7 separate regions of the Homo sapiens genome follow, and all the other regions are linked to region 1. The links are contacts of gene promoters, found by promoter capture Hi-C in blood cells and fetal thymus (Javierre and others, 2016). All regions are on one chromosome and are shown on one strand. The core of a region is centred on a gene start or on the middle of the fragment in contact, and the rest is flanking DNA. Distances in the headings are between cores, read along the strand shown. Region 1 holds the start of PCDHA2 (protocadherin alpha 2). Region 2 has its middle 7.1 kb from the start of SLC25A2. Region 3 overlaps LOC105378199 (a long non-coding RNA gene). Region 4 holds the start of PCDHB15 (protocadherin beta 15). Region 5 has its middle 2.5 kb from the start of PCDHB12. Region 6 holds the start of PCDHB6 (protocadherin beta 6). Region 7 has its middle 6.2 kb from the start of PCDHB5.

The links. The method cuts DNA at HindIII sites, captures the fragments that hold promoters and counts their contacts. A CHiCAGO score of 5 or more calls a contact.
Region 2: a contact is called between a fragment that was not itself captured here and the fragment with the promoter of PCDHA2 in region 1, in 5 of 17 cell types (erythroblasts, M2 macrophages, megakaryocytes and 2 more). The highest score is 10.4, in erythroblasts.
Region 3: a contact is called between a fragment that was not itself captured here and the fragment with the promoter of PCDHA2 in region 1, in 5 of 17 cell types (M1 macrophages, endothelial precursors, erythroblasts and 2 more). The highest score is 7.2, in M1 macrophages.
Region 4: a contact is called between the fragment with the promoter of PCDHB15 here and the fragment with the promoter of PCDHA2 in region 1, in 13 of 17 cell types (M2 macrophages, M1 macrophages, M0 macrophages and 10 more). The highest score is 18.6, in M2 macrophages.
Region 5: a fragment that was not itself captured here is called in contact with the fragment with the promoter of PCDHA2 in region 1 in 7 of 17 cell types (M1 macrophages, erythroblasts, M2 macrophages and 4 more); the score reaches 10.3 in M1 macrophages.
Region 6: the fragment with the promoter of PCDHB6 here is called in contact with the fragment with the promoter of PCDHA2 in region 1 in 13 of 17 cell types (M1 macrophages, M2 macrophages, M0 macrophages and 10 more); the score reaches 23.7 in M1 macrophages.
Region 7: a contact is called between a fragment that was not itself captured here and the fragment with the promoter of PCDHA2 in region 1, in 4 of 17 cell types (erythroblasts, neutrophils, M1 macrophages and 1 more). The highest score is 6.1, in erythroblasts.

What each region holds. Positions count from the first base shown.
Region 1 is chr5:140,793,454-140,796,340 of GRCh38, forward strand. PCDHA2 (protocadherin alpha 2) reads left to right here and starts at 1,399. Exons shown (of 4, transcript NM_018905.3): 1 at 1,399-2,887. The coding sequence starts at 1,512. All of the region lies in intron 1 of PCDHA1 (protocadherin alpha 1), which reads left to right. It also overlaps PCDHA@. The HindIII fragment of the contact is 8,329 bases long and covers 1-2,887 here.
Region 2 is chr5:141,295,471-141,298,357 of GRCh38, forward strand. No RefSeq gene overlaps it. Among named protein-coding and RNA genes, the nearest start is that of SLC25A2, 7.1 kb to the right of the region's middle. The HindIII fragment of the contact is 7,402 bases long and covers 1-2,887 here.
Region 3 is chr5:141,263,747-141,266,633 of GRCh38, forward strand. The region is part of intron 1 of LOC105378199 (a long non-coding RNA gene); the gene reads right to left. Among named protein-coding and RNA genes, the nearest start is that of PCDHB15, 20 kb to the left of the region's middle. The HindIII fragment of the contact is 2,184 bases long and covers 381-2,564 here.
Region 4 is chr5:141,244,040-141,246,926 of GRCh38, forward strand. It overlaps PCDHB15 (protocadherin beta 15), which reads left to right and starts at 1,356. Exons shown (of 1, transcript NM_018935.4): 1 at 1,356-2,887. The coding sequence starts at 1,540. It also overlaps PCDHB@ and the pseudogene PCDHB19P. The HindIII fragment of the contact is 5,789 bases long and covers 1-2,887 here.
Region 5 is chr5:141,204,825-141,207,711 of GRCh38, forward strand. It overlaps PCDHB@. Among named protein-coding and RNA genes, the nearest start is that of PCDHB12, 2.5 kb to the right of the region's middle. The HindIII fragment of the contact is 2,869 bases long and covers 10-2,878 here.
Region 6 is chr5:141,148,662-141,151,548 of GRCh38, forward strand. It overlaps PCDHB6 (protocadherin beta 6), which reads left to right and starts at 1,396. Exons shown (of 1, transcript NM_018939.4): 1 at 1,396-2,887. The coding sequence starts at 1,597. It also overlaps PCDHB@. The HindIII fragment of the contact is 6,099 bases long and covers 1-2,887 here.
Region 7 is chr5:141,127,610-141,130,496 of GRCh38, forward strand. It overlaps PCDHB@. Among named protein-coding and RNA genes, the nearest start is that of PCDHB5, 6.2 kb to the right of the region's middle. The HindIII fragment of the contact is 3,190 bases long and covers 1-2,887 here.

The DNA.
Region 1 (2,887 bases), core at 149-2,648:
TACTGTACATGAGGGAAAAAAATTGTTATTGGAAAAAAAGCTAGCTTTTCTTAACAAGAGCTTTGCTTTTCTCTTACGGACATTGCAAATTTTGCAATTAATTTTACTTCTCTCTTTGCTCTAGGAAGCTGAAAACAAAATTGGTGACATGGTTAGAGTAACTGAAGGTGACCCTTTATTATGGATTTTGTATGCTATCCCACTCCTTGATTCATTTTATTTCATCCTCATCTTATCTTTATTCTATTTTCATTTTTTTACTGTGAAGGGATCAGCTAAAAATTAACAAAAGAAGATATTCTCAAGTAATTAACACAAAAAAAGAGATCGATTGTATTGTTCTTGCATAAAAGTCTAAATGTAATGGAAAAGGAATATTCTAAAGTAATAGTACATTATCCAAATGAGAAACAAATAAATTATTAATTTCAAAACATTTGCAAACAATTCAAAAATCAAAATTAAATCACAAAACAACAGTATATATACACATATATTTTCAATGGACTAAAATACCTTTGATTACTATGTTCTTCATTTGAAGAAATAGTGAAAAATGCTAATATATCCAAAAGAATTGAAAGCAGGGTCTCAAAGAAATATATGCACACCCATGTTCATGGCAGCACTGTTCACAACAGTCAAGAAATGGAAGCAACTCAAATGTCCACGAATACTTGAATGAATAAACAAAACGTGGTGTATACATATGTTGGACTATTATTCAGCCTTAAAAAGGAAAGAAGTCCTGTCACATGTTACAATATGGATGAACCTTGAGGAACCATCCACGGATGCTTGAATGAATAAACAAAACGTGGTGTATACATACGATGGACTAGTATTCAGCCTTAAAAAGGAAATAAATCTTGTCACATGCTACAACATGGATGAACCTTGAGGACATTGTGCTAAGTGAAATAGGCCAGTCACAAAAAGACAAATACTTTACGAGTCCACTTACACGAAATATCTAAAGTAGTGAAATTCATAGAAATAGAAAATAGGACTGTGGTTACCAGAGACTGGAGTGACGGTGAAAAGCGGAGTTGTTGTCTAATGGGTATAGAGTTTCTGTTTTCCAAGATGAAAAATTTGTAACAATGTGAATATACTTAACATTACTGAAATGTACATTTAATCATAGTTAATATGGTAATTTTAAATATTATGTTGTGTGTTTTTTAACCAGAGTAAAAAAGGGTAAAAAGGTAATATATTTTAGGGCTTAAAATAGTTATTTTTTTCCAAGATGAAAGCTATGAGTAAACTTAAACCAGAAAATCGACTAGTTTTAAATCTACAGAATAAACAGTAGAGCCTTCCTTTTAGCCACATGATGTCGCTGTCCACCATAGAGTGTTCTCTAGGAAGGAAAATACCCAGAGCCCCTTTGTTACTTCAGAGAAGCGGAGGAATAAGAGAAGCAGCAGGACTTTAACAGAGACTAGAATATTTAAATTTTTGCAAAACATGCTCTTCTAATTTGATCAAAACATTGAGGATTGGTAATGGCGTCTTCTATCAGAAGGGGCCGAGGGGCCTGGACACGGCTGCTCTCGCTTCTGCTCCTCGCAGCCTGGGAGGTGGGGAGCGGCCAGCTCCGCTACTCCGTCCCCGAGGAGGCCAAACACGGCACCTTCGTGGGCCGCATCGCGCAGGACCTGGGGCTGGAGCTGGAGGAGCTGGTGCCGCGCCTGTTCCGGGTGGCGTCCAAAAGACACGGGGACCTTCTGGAGGTAAATCTGCAGAATGGCATTTTGTTTGTGAATTCTCGGATCGACCGGGAGGAGCTGTGCGGGCGGAGCGCGGAATGTAGCATCCACGTGGAGGTGATCGTGGACAGGCCGCTGCAGGTTTTCCATGTGGAAGTGGAGGTGAAGGACATTAACGACAACCCGCCAATATTTCCAATGACAGTAAAGACTATCCGGTTTCCCGAATCAAGGCTGCTTGATTCTCGGTTTCCTCTAGAGGGAGCATCTGATGCAGATATAGGAGTAAATGCTCTTCTCTCCTACAAGCTCAGCTCCAGTGAGTTTTTCTTCCTAGATATACAGGCAAATGATGAACTAAGCGAATCTTTGTCTCTCGTGCTGGGGAAATCGCTGGACAGAGAGGAAACTGCTGAGGTTAATTTGTTACTGGTGGCTACTGATGGGGGCAAACCTGAGCTCACGGGCACCGTTCAAATACTTATTAAGGTATTAGATGTAAATGACAATGAACCAACTTTTGCCCAATCAGTTTACAAAGTAAAATTGTTAGAGAATACGGCAAATGGGACCTTAGTGGTTAAGTTAAACGCTTCTGATGCAGATGAAGGACCGAACAGCGAGATTGTGTATTCACTCGGTAGTGATGTGTCCTCCACTATACAGACTAAGTTTACCATAGATCCCATCTCAGGGGAAATCAGAACTAAGGGAAAATTAGATTATGAAGAAGCAAAGTCCTACGAGATTCAGGTCACTGCAACTGACAAAGGAACCCCTTCAATGTCAGGACATTGTAAAATTTCATTAAAACTTGTGGACATCAATGATAACACACCAGAAGTCTCAATAACGTCTCTCTCACTTCCCATCTCAGAGAACGCTTCCCTGGGCACTGTCATTGCTCTCATCACGGTGTCGGATCGCGACTCTGGTACGAATGGACATGTCACCTGCTCCCTGACGCCCCACGTCCCTTTCAAGCTGGTGTCCACCTTCAAGAATTACTACTCGTTGGTGCTGGACAGCGCCCTGGACCGCGAGAGCGTGTCAGCCTATGAGCTGGTGGTGACCGCACGGGACGGGGGCTCGCCTTCACTGTGGGCCACCACCAGCGTGTCCATCGAGGTGGCCGACGTGAACGACAACGCGCCGGCGTTCGCACAGCCTGA
Region 2 (2,887 bases), core at 244-2,743, 500 kb after region 1:
CACAAAAACAAAAGAAGTTAGGGAAAAGTGAACTCTTGTTTTTTTGAGACAGGGTCTCACTCTGTCGCCTAGCCTGAAGTCCAATGGCATGATCTTGGCTCACTACAGCCTCGACCTCCTGAGCCCAAACAATCTTCCCACCTCAGCCTCCCAAGTAGCTGGAGCCACAGGCATGCACCACCACACTCAGCTAAATTTTAAAATTTTTTTTAGAGATGAGGTCTCCCTGTGTTGCCCAGGCTGGGTGAACTCATTTTTTAAAAAAGAACCATAAACAGCTAAGCAACACCCTGAAAAATATTCATCCTCAATAGTAGTTAAAAAATGCAAAACTAGAAAAAATTAATTTAAAAGAATGAAAGTGAAATAAAGACAATCTAAAACAAAAATGAAGAGTCTTTGTCACTAGTAGACCCACATTAAAGGAAATTCTAAAGAATTTATTTTGGGTATAAGGCAAAGGATCATAGATGGAAACCCAGAGATAATATAAAAGCCAACACGTACACAGTTTACCAGACACCAGGCACCGCATTAACTAGTCTGCATATATTAACTCATTTAATTCTCACACAGCTCTGTGAGGTAATAATCCTCATTTTACTGTTGAAGAAACCAATACACAGAGTTAGAAAACTTGACTAAGGTCACACACCTAGTACAGGACAGAGCCAGAGATATGACACCAAGTATTGAGGATTTTAAATCTGACACTGGCTAGGTAAGTAAATAAATAAAGCAGGCCATGTATGGACTAATGATGAGAGTCTATCATAATCCAATTCTGTGAATCTGAGGTCCAACAGGATTTGTTTTTAAAAAATTCTATATGTGGGCTGGGTGTGGTGGCTCACGCCTGTAATCCCAGCACTTTGGGAGGCCAAGGCAGGCAGATCACCTGAGATCGGGAGTTTGAGCCTAGCCTGACCAACACGGTGAAACCCCATCTCTACTAAAAATGCAAAAATTAGCCGGGCGTAGTGGTGGGCGCTACTTGGGAGGCTGAGGCAGGAGAATCGCTTGAACCCAGGAGGCGGAGGTTGCAGCGAGCTGAGATCGTGCCATTGCACTCCAGCCTGGGTGACAGAGTGAGACTCCATCTCAAAAATAAAAATAAATAACAATAAAATCCTATATGTGATAGAATATGAAGCACAGAAAATCACCAATGATGTATTCTTGCCAAACATGTTTAACTTCTCCCAGGCCTTTAGATCTTTTCTCCAGCATGGAAAACACAGAACCTAGGAGCCTTCCTGCCCAGCTCTACTGCAGGCACAGAACAGAATCAACCTGGAGAATCACTAGTGCTTGGACATAGAGCTAGGGTCTTATCGACTTGGATCAGCTTTGACTCCAGATGGCAAAGAGAAGAGGGGAGGCAAACAAAGAAACAGAAGCAGAAAGTAGAAAAATAAATCCCAGCTGGGCGCAGTGGCTCACGCCTGTAATCCCAGCACTTTGGGAGGCCAAGGCAGGCTGATCACGCGGTCAAGATATCGAGACCATCCTGGCCAACATGGTGAAACCCCGTCTCTACTAAAAATACAAAAATTAGCTGGGTGTGGTGGTGCGTGGCTGTAGTCCTAGCTACTTGGGAGGCTGAGGCAGGAGAATCACTTGAACCTGGGAGACGTAGGTTGCAGTGAGCCAAGATCGTGCCAATGCACTCCAGCCTGGCAATAAAGTGAGACTCCGTCTGAAAAAATAATAATAATAAATAAATCCCATAATGCATTCACCAGAAGACAGTCATGGTGCCGCAGCAGGCTGCAGACACAAGGGAAGACTAACTAACCTCCTGAGCTGCCTCTGCCTGTCTAAATGAGCATCTGAGTCCAGTACCAAGGAGTTGAAGAAGGCTTTTTTGTGGGCAACGTCGTGGAGAACCTAGATGAGAAACCCTGAGCACCGGCTAGAGGTGAGTCCACTATTTCTCCAAAGTCAGAAAAGCACACTTCTTCTAAATGCACAAAAGATCTGTTTGTAAATCAATGATTAAAGAAGATATGTAGAGAGATGCCCTAGTTCACGTCTGCTGAGAGACCAGGTTGTTGAGAAGGACCCAGTGAAACTTCTTCAGGCTGCAGTAGAAATACTCGCTATATACATAATTATCTGGCTTCCCAGTGGAAGAAATAATAATGCCCTTTCTGGGGACATTATTTTCACATGCAGAATGTGCATGATTGTTAAGAGACATCAATTATCTACAAAGCTACTTACCCACTTGTGATATTTTTTCTTCTCAACATGCAGACTAAAGCCAGCCTGAACTGATTTTGAAAAATCTACTAAGCCTCATGTAAGGAATAGAGCATCACTACTGGTGATGCTACCAACCTTGAAGAGGTTGGGGAAACAGGAAGATAGCAGTCCACCTTTTAAACATCATTAACAAGAAGTCTGTATGTAAGTGCTGGCATTAGGAGGAAGCCAAGAACAGTGTAGACAGTGGAGCTCAGAAAGCAGGCCACAGACCCTGATGATAGTTTTGTTGTAGTCTCAGCAATGCACCAAGATGTAACAGTCTCTCCTTGTCTGAGATAACACCCAGAGTTCTTTGTCCTACCTCCAAGAAGACACAAAGGTGAGGTTGGAGCGAAAGTTTAATAAGCGAAACAAGAAAGTTCTCTGTCAGCAGAGAGGCGGGCCTAAACAGGGTGCCCCGTGTGAGGCTGGGGTCCAGGGTTTTCAGGGGCTGGGAAGAGGAAGGAATGTGCTTAGTCCCTGGGCTGTCTGGAGAACATGTGACTCAGCTTGACCTGACATCAACCAGAAAGGTTTGCCCGGGACCTTGGGTTGGGAACAATCAGGGGCTGAAGTGATGATTCATAGAGCCCAGACTTACAGTCCAAAAAAGAAAGAAAAGTGCCCACCGGAACCC
Region 3 (2,887 bases), core at 223-2,722, 470 kb after region 1:
GGCCAACATGATGAAACCCCATCTCTACTAAAAATACAAAAATTAGCTGGGCATGATGGCGGGCACCTGTAATCCCAGTTACTCAGGAGGCTGAGGCAGAAGAATTGGTTGAATTCAGGAGGCGGAGGTTGCAGTGAGCTGAGATCGTGCCATTGCATTCCAGCCTGGACGACAGTGCGAGACTCCATCTCAAAATAAATAAATACATACAAATGTATGAAAATCTATGGACTCTCCCAAAGAAAAGACTCTGCAGATGACTTTTCTAGTGTCATCTAATAAATCCACTCTAATATGTTTGACGCTTCTGACCCCTTCAGTACTCTCCAAGGTAGTTCTGGTAACTCCAACTCGTTTATTGTAGTCCATCATTATGCCCAAGCTTCAAGAGGCCAACCCAGCAATGTATTAGTTCTTATCATAGGTGTCATTGCCAGGAGGCAATTCTGAAGTACAAATCTGAAGTCAAGAGAGAGTACCTTTGTACCCTAAACACTCCTCTATCCAGCAGCATATTACACACACACACACACACATTTATGTTCAATATTAATTTCCAAGCATAATCCCCATGTTTCTGCTGGTACATATTAGCCATGCCTTGTAGTTTCTTTAGTGAATATAATTTTTTTAAATTTTCTTTTCTTTTCTTTTTTTTGACGGAGTCTCGCTCTCTCACCAGGCTGGAGTGCAGTGGCACGATCTGAGCTCACTGCAACCTCCACCTCTCGGGTTCAAGCAATTCTCCTGCCTCAGCCTCCTGAGTAGCTGGGACTGCAGGTGCATGCCACCATGCTCAGCTAATTTTTTTGTATTTTTAGTAGAGACAGGGTTTCACCATGTTGGCCAGGATGGTCTCGATCTCCAGACCTTGTGAGCTGCCTGCCTCGGCTTCCCAAAGTGATGGGATTACAGGCATAAGCCACTGTGCCTGGCCTAAATTTTATTTTCTAATGAATAGGATTTATTTTTCTCATGAGCAGGAATTGTACTTTCCAGCTCACGTCATTATTTAACCTTAGTTATAGATATAAAAGCAGTGGGGACAGGTCTTGAATAGGGTAAGTTTCATCTTGTAAGGCATTAATATCAGATGAAGGCATTACATTATCTCCAAGCAATGAAAGGCTTTATTTCCCTAGAAAGGAGGAGGATCCATGGCTAGAAAGAGTTCAAGGGAATCTGAGAATATAAGTATCTCAAGTACATCCAACCAAATGTCCTCATCCCAGGACTCAGAGTATGTGGAATATTTCTTTCCTATCAGGATTCTAACTTTAACAAAGAAAACTTAGATCGTTGTGTTTTCAGTCTGCTTTGTAGCTCTGGCACTAATACATTCAAATACTGAGCCTGATTTTCAGTACATCTAGCCCTCCAGCTGTAGAAAAGAGATGTCTTTTAAAATTTTTCCATGGAAAGCCTTTGGCTTTCACAGTGTTCTCTAAATTGATAGGTGGATAATTTGAGCTAATCATGCTATATATTCAGGGCTTATGGTCAGTAGAAAAAAGAAGCAAACTTCACAATCCTTTCAATTACAATTTTTTCCATTTGTGTCATGTGCAGAAGCTATTGCATAAGCCAGTAGTTATACCTGTTGCTCATTTCAATCCTCCACAGGTGAGAATCTTAGTAAGTGGGATGCTACAGCATGACAGGGATTATCACAACCCCACTTTCTACCAGAATTGGATTGCTGCCATGTGACCAGCAAGTAATTCAAGTTCAGAATCCCATCCTTAGAATTTGCTTTCTAAGTTGCTATCTTTGTTGAGTTCTCCCAAAAGCAGACCTAGAGACAAGGACTTAGGTGCAATTAATTTATTTAAAAAGTTATCTAGAGAAGCACCAGTGAGGAAGTGTGGAAACTGAGAAAAAGAAGGGAGAAACATCAATAAATTAAAAATTATTATTTTAATAAGCAGATTACCATTGTGAATACATGGGCCTCAATCTTGCTAGGGAACTCTATGAGGAACTGTGTGGAACATACTGTAGAATTGTCCCATCAAAGAACCAGAAAGTTAGTGGTAGACTGATCTCACCTTCCATCTTTCATTGAGTGTTAACCCTAAGGGCATTAAATTTCTGGAAATTCCAGATTGCAATGTGAATGGGCAGAGCAAGCTCCTATGGCATCAGAGAAATCCCTCCCAGGAAGAGAAGTAGAAAGACAAAAGTGCTTGACATGATGTATTAGTCAATTTTCACACTGTTGATAAAGACATACCTGAAACTAGGGAGCAAAAGAGGTTTAATTGGACTTACAGTTCCACATGGCTAGGGAGGCCTCAGAATCATGGCAGTAGGTGAAATGCACTTCCTACATGGCAGCGGCAAGAGAAAATGAGAGAGATGCAAAAGTGGAAATCCCTGATAAAACCATCAGATCTCATGAGACTTATTCACTACGACCAGAACAGTAGGAGGGAAACTGCCCTCATGATTCAATTATCTCCCACCAGGTCCCTCCCACAACACGTGGGAATTATGGGAGTACAATTCAAGATGAGATTTGAGTGGGGACACAGCCAAACCATATCACAAGAGAAGCTGCTGTAAGCTTGCTAAAAAGTTTTCATTGAACTGCAGGTAAACTCTGAGGTGGGCCAAGGGAATATAGGACAGGCATCAATAGCATCTGCTATACTGCTGCATTTGGTTGTACAAGCAAAGGGTTGAGAAGTAGCTGTGGAAGGAAGGTTCAGCATTCCAGTGTCACCAGGAGCAACAGCCAGATTGAGTGTTCCTGTATCTAGGAGCAACTGTGTGGGTATTGAGAGGTGGTAGCAACAGTAGAAGTGGCCTACTAACCCTGGGTCACAGGTGTAGCAAGTTGTTCTTGGAACTCAATAGTTCCTGAGTTCCACTTATCCACACATTC
Region 4 (2,887 bases), core at 106-2,605, 450 kb after region 1:
CATATAATATATCCCTTGCTTATGGGTAGCTAAGTTGTTTTGCCACTTAATGAAATGACATTTTAGGTCATTCTGAGTTATTTCACATTACTATTTAAAGGGCATAGGAAATAGCTACCTTATGAACATGTTGTCTTTGTTTATCCATCTTATATAATGAACTTGAATCCCAGAAGAAGAGGGAATTTCTACAGTAGGAGGAGAACCTATCTGTCAGAATGTTTAAATTAATTGTGATTTATTAATGGATCCATTTAACAAATATTTATTGAGCACGTACCATGTGCCAGGGATTATTTTAGATATTGGGGATGCAGCAGTGAACAAAATGAAGTTCTAACATGTGAGGTTGAAACAGAAAGGAAACAACTAAATAAGTACATCTATACTACGTCAGATAATAAATACGAGAGAGACAAGGCAGGGCTGGGTACAGCAGCTCATGCCTATAACCCCAGCACTTTGGGAGGCTGAGGCAGGAGGATTGCTTGAGCTCGGAAATTTGAGACCAGCCCGGGCAACATAGCAAGACCTCATCTTTACAAATAATTAAAACATTAGCCAGGCATGGTGATGCGCAACTGTGGTCCCAGCTACAGTTGCTGAGGTGGGGGGATTGCTTGAGCCTGGGTAGTCAAGGCTGCAATGAGCAGTGATTGTGCCACTGCACTCCCTCCTGGACAACAGAGCAAGACCCCATCTCAAAAAAAAAAAAAGGAAAAATGAAAAGAAAAAAAAGAAAAAGCAAAGTAAGAGATATAGGAAGTGCCTTCATATGTATTTTTCCACAGTTTAAAATTTTCATAAAATCATAACTCTCTGACTTTATGTAGAAAGGATACCACACTGGAATTAACGTGTAGCTTTTTCTTGATGTAATCCAACCAATGGGAGCACAATTCTGGTACATAGGCTGTCTAGAATTTGAAAGAAATTAAAGAATTCATTTTGTTTTGCTGATAAATTTTTAAGAAATCACGTGGCTTTATGTTATTATTATTACAAGATGACTGATCACTATTATGTCTTCTTTCACTTCTCAATTTCCCTCAGAACACTACACCCAGACTACAGGCTCTGGAGGGTGGGGACCATGTCTGGGTTGTTTACTGATGTATTTCATAATTTGGCACATAGAGACCAATAATACTCCTTTAAATGAAGAAATTAATAATTACCATTGCGTGATATTGTGATTACATCATTTCCTCCCAATTTCCAAACTCCTAATAGAATAGAGAATAGATCAATTGTAGCAATTCGTTTCGAAGCAAAGACAACGCATGGTGGCGCTGCAGGCTAAGGCTTCAAAAAAAGGAAAAGGAAAAAGCCCATGAAATGCTACTAGCTACTTCAGACCTCTTTCAGCCTAAGAGGAAAGCCTGTTAGCAGAGCACGGACCAGTGTCTCCGGAGAATGCTATTCTCCTACATTTCCGAACAGGTTATCAACGCACAGATCGATCACTGCCTCTGTCCCATCGCTCCCTGAAGTAGCTCTGACTCCGGTTCCTTGAAAGGGGCGTGTACAGAAGTAAAGATGGAGCCTGCAGGGGAGCGCTTTCCCGAACAAAGGCAAGTCCTGATTCTCCTTCTTTTACTGGAAGTGACTCTGGCAGGCTGGGAACCCCGTCGCTATTCTGTGATGGAGGAAACAGAGAGAGGTTCTTTTGTAGCCAACCTGGCCAATGACCTAGGGCTGGGAGTGGGGGAGCTAGCCGAGCGGGGAGCCCGGGTAGTTTCTGAGGATAACGAACAAGGCTTGCAGCTTGATCTGCAGACCGGGCAGTTGATATTAAATGAGAAGCTGGACCGGGAGAAGCTGTGTGGCCCTACTGAGCCCTGTATAATGCATTTCCAAGTGTTACTGAAAAAACCTTTGGAAGTATTTCGAGCTGAACTACTAGTGACAGACATAAACGATCATTCTCCTGAGTTTCCTGAAAGAGAAATGACCCTGAAAATCCCAGAAACTAGCTCCCTTGGGACTGTGTTTCCTCTGAAAAAAGCTCGGGACTTGGACGTGGGCAGCAATAATGTTCAAAACTACAATATTTCTCCCAATTCTCATTTCCATGTTTCCACTCGCACCCGAGGGGATGGCAGGAAATACCCAGAGCTGGTGCTGGACACAGAACTGGATCGCGAGGAGCAGGCCGAGCTCAGATTAACCTTGACAGCGGTGGACGGTGGCTCTCCACCCCGATCTGGCACCGTCCAGATCCTCATCTTGGTCTTGGACGCCAATGACAATGCCCCGGAGTTTGTGCAGGCGCTCTACGAGGTGCAGGTCCCAGAGAACAGCCCAGTAGGCTCCCTAGTTGTCAAGGTCTCTGCTAGGGATTTAGACACTGGGACAAATGGAGAGATATCATACTCCCTTTATTACAGCTCTCAGGAGATAGACAAACCTTTTGAGCTAAGCAGCCTTTCAGGAGAAATTCGACTAATTAAAAAACTAGATTTTGAGACAATGTCTTCGTATGATCTAGATATAGAGGCATCTGATGGCGGGGGACTTTCTGGAAAATGCTCTGTCTCTGTTAAGGTGCTGGATGTTAACGATAACTTCCCGGAACTAAGTATTTCATCACTTACCAGCCCTATTCCCGAGAATTCTCCAGAGACAGAAGTGGCCCTGTTTAGGATTAGAGACCGAGACTCTGGGGAAAATGGAAAAATGATTTGCTCAATTCAGGATGATGTTCCTTTTAAGCTAAAACCTTCTGTTGAGAATTTCTACAGGCTGGTAACAGAAGGGGCGCTGGACAGAGAGACCAGAGCCGAGTACAACATCACCATCACCATCACAGACTTGGGGACTCCAAGGCTGAAAACCGAGCAGAGCATAACCGTGCTGGTGTCGGACGTCAATGACAACGCCCCCG
Region 5 (2,887 bases), core at 194-2,693, 410 kb after region 1:
ATATTGCTAAGCTTTCTTCAAAATACACATTAGTGTAGTGTGATTAAATTTCCTTTCTTGAGAAACATTTTTCCTAGAACTGAAAATTGTTTTGTACTTACATAATTTTCCATTTACTAATATTAGTTTCTTTACATTCTCTAATTTGAATCTCTTTCTTCTCAAAATATTCAAATATATCAGATACCTGTCAATTATGTTTATTTCTTGGTGATCTTGCACCCAGATCTCTACTTCATTCATACTGGTTGCTCTATAGGCTGTCACCCTAGGACTTTAAAAAATATTTTTCTTTGTTGGTCCTTTTTTATAAGATCCAGTACATTCTTCTTTCTTAGTTTACTCACTTATTTTGTTGATGCACATCTCTCAGTACCTTCATAAAAATGGATACAGAGGAAATAAAACTTTTTGAGAGCTTGCTTTGTTATTTTCTTTTTTTTTATTTGATTGATAGTTTGGGCATAACATTCTAGGTTGAAAATAATTTTCCCTCAGATTTCAAAAGCACTGCTCCTTTTATTGACTGCATATAGAATTGCTGTTCAGAAGACTGATTCCATTCTGATTCCTATGTCTTTTTATGTGATTCCCCCCCTTTTTTTCTTTCTTTCTGTGAGCATTGAAAAAAATTCCCCTGGTCTTCTGAAAATACCTTAGTACTGGCTCTTTATTGATTAATCTGGTTATATCGCTATGCCCTGTTCATGTTTAACTTTTCTTTTTTTTTTAAGATGATGTCTCACTGTGTTACCCAGGCTGGAGTGCAGTGGCTATTCACAGGCACAATCACAGCACCCTGCAAGCTCTAACTCGAGAGCTACTTCTGCCTCAGCCTTCCAAGTTGCTGGGACTACAGGCATGTGCTAGACCCCTTGGCTAATGTTCAGACTATCAATTTTATTTCTGAGAAATTTTGGTTGGGCATGGTGACTCACACCTGCAATCCCAGTACTTTGGGAAGCTGAGGCAGGATTATTTGAGGCCCCGAGTTTGAGACCACCCTGGGCAACATAGTGGGAACCTATCTCTACACAAAAACAATTTGTTAAAAGGAATTTCCTTGGTATGTTTTACTCATAATTTCTCCTCTGAGTTTTCTGGATTCTCACTTCAATGAAAATCTCAGTTAAATATTAGACCTCCTAGATTGACTCTATAAGACTATAAGCCATTTTTCCTTTCTTATTTTCTCTTTGCCTCTCATTCCATTTTTTGGACAATTTATTTAATCACTCAATGTTTTATGTATAAGTTTTTCTTTATGACTGAAAAATATTTACTTTTAAGAGTTGTTTTTGGTTCTCTGAATGTTTTTCATGGCATCCTGTCATAGATTTATAAATGTAATATTTTCTCTCATTTATAATTAATCTTTTCTTTAAAAATGCATTAGGCAGTATCATTATTATATATCCATTTTAAAAGTGAAAGTGAGTCTAAGGGGAGTTAAGAACTTGTCCAAGGTAATATAGCTAGTAAAAAGCACTGAAGTCCTAATCTAGTCTTCATCTTACAATAGGAATATGTACTTCATATAGTTACTATTTAGATTAAGTGGATAAATACATACTTCATACAGCTACTATTTAGATTAAATGGATAAATGCATTATGAGGCACTTAGAACAATGAGTAGCATAGAGTAAATACTAAATAAGTATTAGCTTTTATTAGATTTTCTTTCTCTGGGAATATTAACCAGACATTTTCAAAGGCTTTCTTCTGCTTTCTATATTATTGTTCCTTTTTTTTTTCTTGATGGTAGCGATGGTGGTAGTTTTGGTCTTTCTATGTTATGTTGCAGGCATTTCCTCAAATGCCTTGGCTATCTTCTCGTATTTTAGAAGGATGATATATCAAAATGCTGACAATCAACTCTGTGAGCGAACAGTACCTGTTGATGGCAGGGCTTCATTCTAATATAACCATGCTAGGATAAGTCTATTACCTTATGAGATGCCAAATATTAATATGTGTCTTCATTTGGGCTTTCATATTCTCCAGGTTAGAATTCTACAATATACACTATGGGGATAGACTAGGGGTCAGGCATACACTTTGTGTCCTACAGTCTAAGAGTATTGCATGAAAAGGGATTAGAAGTCTCACCATGCAAAATGCAAAGGTTTGCTTACTCTCCCTATTTTCAGTTTGACACCTCACACTTGTGCTCAGCTGTGCCTAGATCCCCAAGACTAGAGAAAGTCCCATTAAATTTCTCCAGAGAATAAACTTTCTATTTTCTGGCTGTGAGTTATGTTTCCATCTATGTAGGGTGATGAGAAGAACAGAGAATTCAATTATCCTCTACACATACTTCCAACTAATAACTTTTTTCCATCCTTAACTGACTTCAGTCTTCTTAAACATCTGGTTCCTCCAGATCTTGCGCTTAAAAGAGATTATGTTTCTTGTGAGTATCTTCAATGCAGGAACTTTACTTTAGGGGCACTTTTTGGAACTGCTAAGTTAATTGCTCTTCCACCTGCTTTCTGTCATAGAAAAATGTATGTGTTCACTTGTGTATTCTTAATCTTTGTTAGTTCCTACCATTTTAATTACTTTTCTGCCATTTTAGTGCATATTTTTTTTTAAAAAGAGAGGTTAATTGTGTGTGCTCAATTCATCTACTTTTCAAGTTTTACCCTTCTGTACCAATTACTATTTCAACCATGTATCCAGCTTACATTTTTAAGAATATTAATTGAATTTAACATTTTAAAATGCAGACTTGTTGGATTCTTCTCCCATCCATTCTTAGTGCACTTTAAGACTTTCTATAGTGAATATCACTGATGAGCCCTTAGCATCTGTTGCAAACAGTCTCCCTCATTTTGTACCAATGAGGTACTTTGGCTAGGACTGAAACCTTCCCAAGCTTAAGA
Region 6 (2,887 bases), core at 146-2,645, 360 kb after region 1:
TGTTACATTCTCAAGGAACAGTGTGTTCCCAGTAGCATCTATCAAGTGAACCCTGGAGGCTGGTCACATTCATAATCTTTTGTTTTTCTGGCTACATAGAGGTGATTTTGAACTACAAGATCATCTCAGCTATTCAGAGTTTAGATTTTATTTAGCCTTATTTGTTTTGCCTAGCATTTATGTATTTGAAAATATCTTGATTTTTAATCTTCTATCACCTTGGCCCTTACCTGAAGTGAACTTTGTTTGAACTCAATTGATTTCACCTCTCAATAAATATGAAATTAATCTGAAATGAATTGAATTGTTTGGCATATTTTACCTCTTCTATGTGCACTAATCTATTTCACACATTTTCAGTTTGTTTAGAGATACATGTTCCAATGTATCTGAGTAGAAACTAGTGAGATGGGAATGGATATAGCCATAATATTCCATCATTGAATTCCATGGCATTCACTCAAATGTAACTCACCTGTTTTAACAGTACCTTAATTTGGCCTGTATTTATTGGACTTGGTGTTCTTTTTGCTGTGAGAAGACGGTGAAGGTGATTCTTGAATGTTTGTTTTCTGTGTTGCATCATGTTTGTACAACACGGTAATATATTTGGACCTTGATTAAATAATGTAAGAGGGGAATTTGATCAAAAAATAAAATGCACAAGACTGTTAAAACAATGTCTAATTCTATCCATGCAAAAATGGAGTAGAATCCTAAAATGCTTATGACAACTACTTGATTGCTTCTAGTCCCTCTTTTAAATACTTTAATTTACTTAGATACATGTATCATACGTACTTCTTGGCCTCAGTTTTCCTCCTAATAGCCTAATTGTTCTTTTTACTGTGCAGGCATAACTATATAACAAAGTAGGTTTTTTTTTTCATGCCATTTATGAGTCATATAATTTAGATAATTTATTGTTTATTTTACCATTATTGTTGCTAACAAACTTCGTTGTTTTGCATTGTTTGTTGGGACAATTAAATAGTGTACCTCTTGGACTAATAGATTAAATAGTTCATCAGAGATAAATTGCACTGCTGAAGCATCAAAGGAGAAAGACTGAAGTGTAGAATCTGCACTTCAATCTTTCTCCTTAATTAGCACCACCAGGGAATTTGATTCAAGTTCTAGAGGGGAGTGAACCCAGGAATTGGCTTAAAAACAAAAACATACACACAAAAAAACCAACGCTCGCAAGCAATTATTTATGCATGCGGTCCACGCACTCAGTTTGAGAAACACTGACTCGACTTAAAAGTCTTTATAATGCTCAGATTTCTGAAATGCTATTGACCTGAAAACATCTCATGAAGTTATTAGTTTGAACGCGTGGTGGCGGTACAAGCTAAGAGAGTGAATGAAAGCTCTGCAGACTCGGTGGACTCCGTTTCATCCAGAAGCCAAGTAAAAATACAGACCACGTTTACAGCTAAAGCTGAGATAGATGTGTCCGGGAAGGCAGTCGTCGCCAGACAAGTTGTAAGAACGAATTTAAAAATCTCTGCAAAGACATCCGAGAGGGTCGACGGTAGATGTGGTGATTGGGAGCTGAAAAGGATTTTTCTTCCGTATTCAGACATAATAGACATGATGCAAACTAAAGTACAGAACAAGAAAAGGCAAGTGGCTTTCTTCATTTTATTGATGCTTTGGGGAGAGGTGGGTTCTGAATCGATTCAGTATTCCGTATTGGAGGAGACAGAAAGTGGCACGTTTGTGGCCAACTTGACAAAGGACCTGGGACTGAGGGTGGGGGAGCTGGCTTCGCGGGGCGCTCGGGTTGTTTTCAAAGGGAACAGACAACATTTGCAGTTTGATCCACAGACCCATGATTTACTGCTAAATGAAAAACTGGACCGGGAGGAGCTGTGTGGCTCCACTGAGCCGTGTGTGCTACCTTTCCAAGTGTTACTGGAAAACCCCTTGCAGTTTTTTCAGGCTTCCTTGCGAGTCAGAGATATAAATGACCACGCCCCGGAATTCCCTGCCAGAGAAATGCTCCTGAAAATATCAGAAATTACTATGCCAGGAAAGATATTTCCTTTGAAAATGGCACACGATTTAGACACCGGCAGCAACGGCCTTCAGAGGTACACAATCAGCTCCAACCCTCACTTCCACGTTCTCACCCGCAATCGCAGCGAAGGCAGGAAGTTCCCGGAGCTGGTGCTAGACAAACCGTTGGACCGCGAGGAGCAGCCCCAACTCAGGCTAACGCTGATCGCGCTGGATGGCGGGTCTCCGCCCCGGTCAGGGACCTCCGAGATTCAGATCCAGGTTTTGGACATCAATGACAACGTCCCCGAGTTTGCTCAGGAGCTCTATGAAGCACAAGTCCCTGAGAACAACCCCCTCGGCTCTCTGGTTATTACCGTCTCAGCCAGAGATTTAGATGCAGGATCGTTTGGGAAGGTATCTTACGCCCTGTTTCAAGTCGATGACGTCAACCAACCCTTCGAAATAAACGCAATCACAGGAGAAATTCGGCTGAGAAAGGCTTTGGATTTTGAGGAAATTCAGTCTTATGACGTGGATGTTGAGGCTACAGATGGTGGAGGCCTATCAGGAAAATGCTCTTTAGTCGTCAGGGTCCTGGACGTGAATGACAATGCCCCTGAACTCACCATGTCGTTCTTCATCAGCCTCATCCCAGAAAACTTACCAGAGATCACAGTGGCAGTTTTCAGTGTTTCAGATGCAGACTCTGGACATAACCAACAGGTTATTTGTTCAATAGAGAACAATCTCCCCTTTCTACTAAGACCTTCCGTGGAGAATTTCTACACCCTGGTAACAGAAGGCGCGCTGGACAGAGAGAGCAGAGCCGAGTACAACATCACTATCACGGTCACTGATTTGGGGACACCAAGGCTGAAAA
Region 7 (2,887 bases), core at 236-2,735, 330 kb after region 1:
GAGAAAAAGACTAAAATCCTAACTGGAAAATTTCTGAAAAGGAAAGTGAAGTTTTAATAGTCTTGCTATTGAAACATTAGAGTTTAGGATCTGCCATGGGAAGGGGCTGTGGAGAATATACCAAGTTCTCAGCTGAAAATTCTGGAGAGCCAGGTGCTTATCAGGACTGCAAAGAACCTTGACAAAGCCCAGTGCCTGTTTCAGTTGAGATGATTTGTTTAGACAGAACTCTATCAAGTTAACAGTGGAAAAGGTGAACTCTTGTTGGAGGAAGATAATATCTTAACCTTGGATAGCTTTTTATGTAAATATTCAACATTCAATAAAAAATTCCTAAGTACACACACCAAAAACTGGATACATGAATAAAACCGAGAGAAAAAAAAGACAATAAAAATTACCCATAAATGATTCAGATATTAAAATTAACTGAATGATATTAAAATAAGTAAGACTAATATGTTAAAAATAAAGAACAATAGAGAAAATAAGGAGATAATTTCACTGGAGAATTGAACTTTAAAAGTGAAAGTTAATTCTAGAACTGAAAAATTATATTATCTGAAATTAAAACTATTTAAATGGTTTAATGTCATAGTCATAAAATGATACAGGATTAGTGGATGCAAGACAATTCAATATTAACATCCAAATATAAGCACAGAGAATAAAATAATAAAATATACAGAAAAGAACATTAGTGATGTGTGGAATGTAATTTTTAAAAACTCTAACATACTGAAAGAGAGAACAAGCATGAGGCAATATTTGAAGAGATAATGATAAAGAATTTTCCAAAACTGGTGAAAATCCTTAATCCTTCAAGATATTCAAGAAATAAATAATAACAGGCTAAATAAAAACAAAGCCTAATTAGGCATATCATAGGAAAGCATCTCAAGACCAAAGTCAAAGAGATAATTTAAGAACCAACCATGTAAGAAATAAAACATTCCTGTTAAAGGAGCATCAGTAAAATGGAGAGCTGACTTTTCAACATAAATCAGGAAATCAAAAGACAAAGGAATGACATCTTTAAAGTCCTGAAAGAAAATTACTACCAGGTTAGAATTCTATTGCCAGCAAACATATCCTTCAAAAATGAATGCAGTTTTCAGACAAAAATGAAGGGAATTAACGACAGTCACATCTGCACTAAAAGAAATACTTTTTTTTTTTTTTTCGAGACAGAGTCTCACTCTGTTGTCTAGGCTGGAGTGCAGTGGCACAATCTCGGCTCACTGCAATCTCCACCTCCTGGGTCCAAGCTATTCTCCCCATCTCAGCCTCCTGAGTAGAGGGGATTACAGACATGTGCCGCCACGCCTGGCTAATTTTTGTATTTTTAGTAGAGACAGGGTTTCACCATGTTAGCCAGGCTGGTCTCGAACTCCTGACCTCAAGGGATCCACCCGCCTTGGCCTCTGAAGGTGTTGGGATTACAGGCATGAGCTACTGCATCTGGCCAAGAAATGCTTTTAATGAAATGCATTAGGCAGAAGGAAAACAATCCAAAAGAAATCACAGAATTGCAGGAATAAATGAAGAGCAATAAGAAAGGTCAATGTACATGAATGTTGATTGAATATTGATTATACAAGGCAATAATATTAATACTAGTTTCTTAAAGGATTTAAATTATATGTAAAATTTAAATTTATAACAACAATAATGTAAAAGGCAAAGGTATAAATAGAGTTAAAAAGTGTTAAGGCTGTAAGCATTATCATGGAAGTAGTAAAATTACTAACGTGTGTTAGATTCTTGTATATTGAAGATGCATGCTGTAATTTATTGGATAATCCTCAAAGTAATAAAACACTAATTGAAGGAAGAAAAATTAAAAATATCTGAATAATCAAAAAGAAAAATTAAACTTTAGTGACAAATAGAAAAGTAATTAGATGGTAAGCATAAATGGAAATATATCAGATATTGTATTAATTTTATTTGGATTAAATAATCCAATTAAACAACAAAAATTGTCAGACTAGATTAAAGAAAAACTCAACTCTATGCTATCAAATTGTGTGTGTGTGAACACAGAAAGAGTGAAGGTTTAAAAGAATTGGATAAGGTATATAGTAATATAAACACTAGCCAAAATAAATCTAGGTAGCTGTATTTACATAAGACAAAAGAGACTTTAAGGAAAGATACATTACTAGAGATAAAGAGAAGTTTTTTTATAATCATAAAGAAGTAAATATACCAGAAATATGTTAGTTTTAAGACTGAATACATCCCAATTAGATAACTACAAAATATATAAAGTTGATAGAATACAAATACAAAGTAGACAAACCCAATTACACAGGGAGATTGAATACAACTCTCTCAATTCCTGTTAGAATAAGAAGAAAAAACACACACATACAAAAAATGTTGAAGATCCGAACCACACGAACATCATATTCAAATAAATTGACATGCATAGCACACTGGAGCATACACATTCTTCTTATATGCATGTGGGATATATAAAAATTGTTCATGTTCTTTGTCATGAATGAAGTCTCAAATATTTAAAAAAGAATTGAGGCCAGGCACAGTGGCTAACACCTGTAATCCCAGCAGTTCAGGAGGCAGAGACGGGCAGATCACAAGGTCAGGAGTTCGAGACCAGCCTGGCCAATATGGTGAAACCCCGTCTCTACTAAAAATACAAAAATTAGCAGGGTATGGTGGCAGGCACCTGTAATCCCAGCTACTCGGGAGGCTGAGGCAGGAAAATTGCTTGAAACCGTCAGGTGGAGGTTTCAGTGAGCTGAGATCGTGCCACTGCACTCCAGCCTGGGCGACAGAGCAAACTCCTTCTTGGGGGGGAAAAAAATTGAAACTACTTAGAGTATGTTCTTTGACCACAGTGGAATTAAGCCAGAAATAA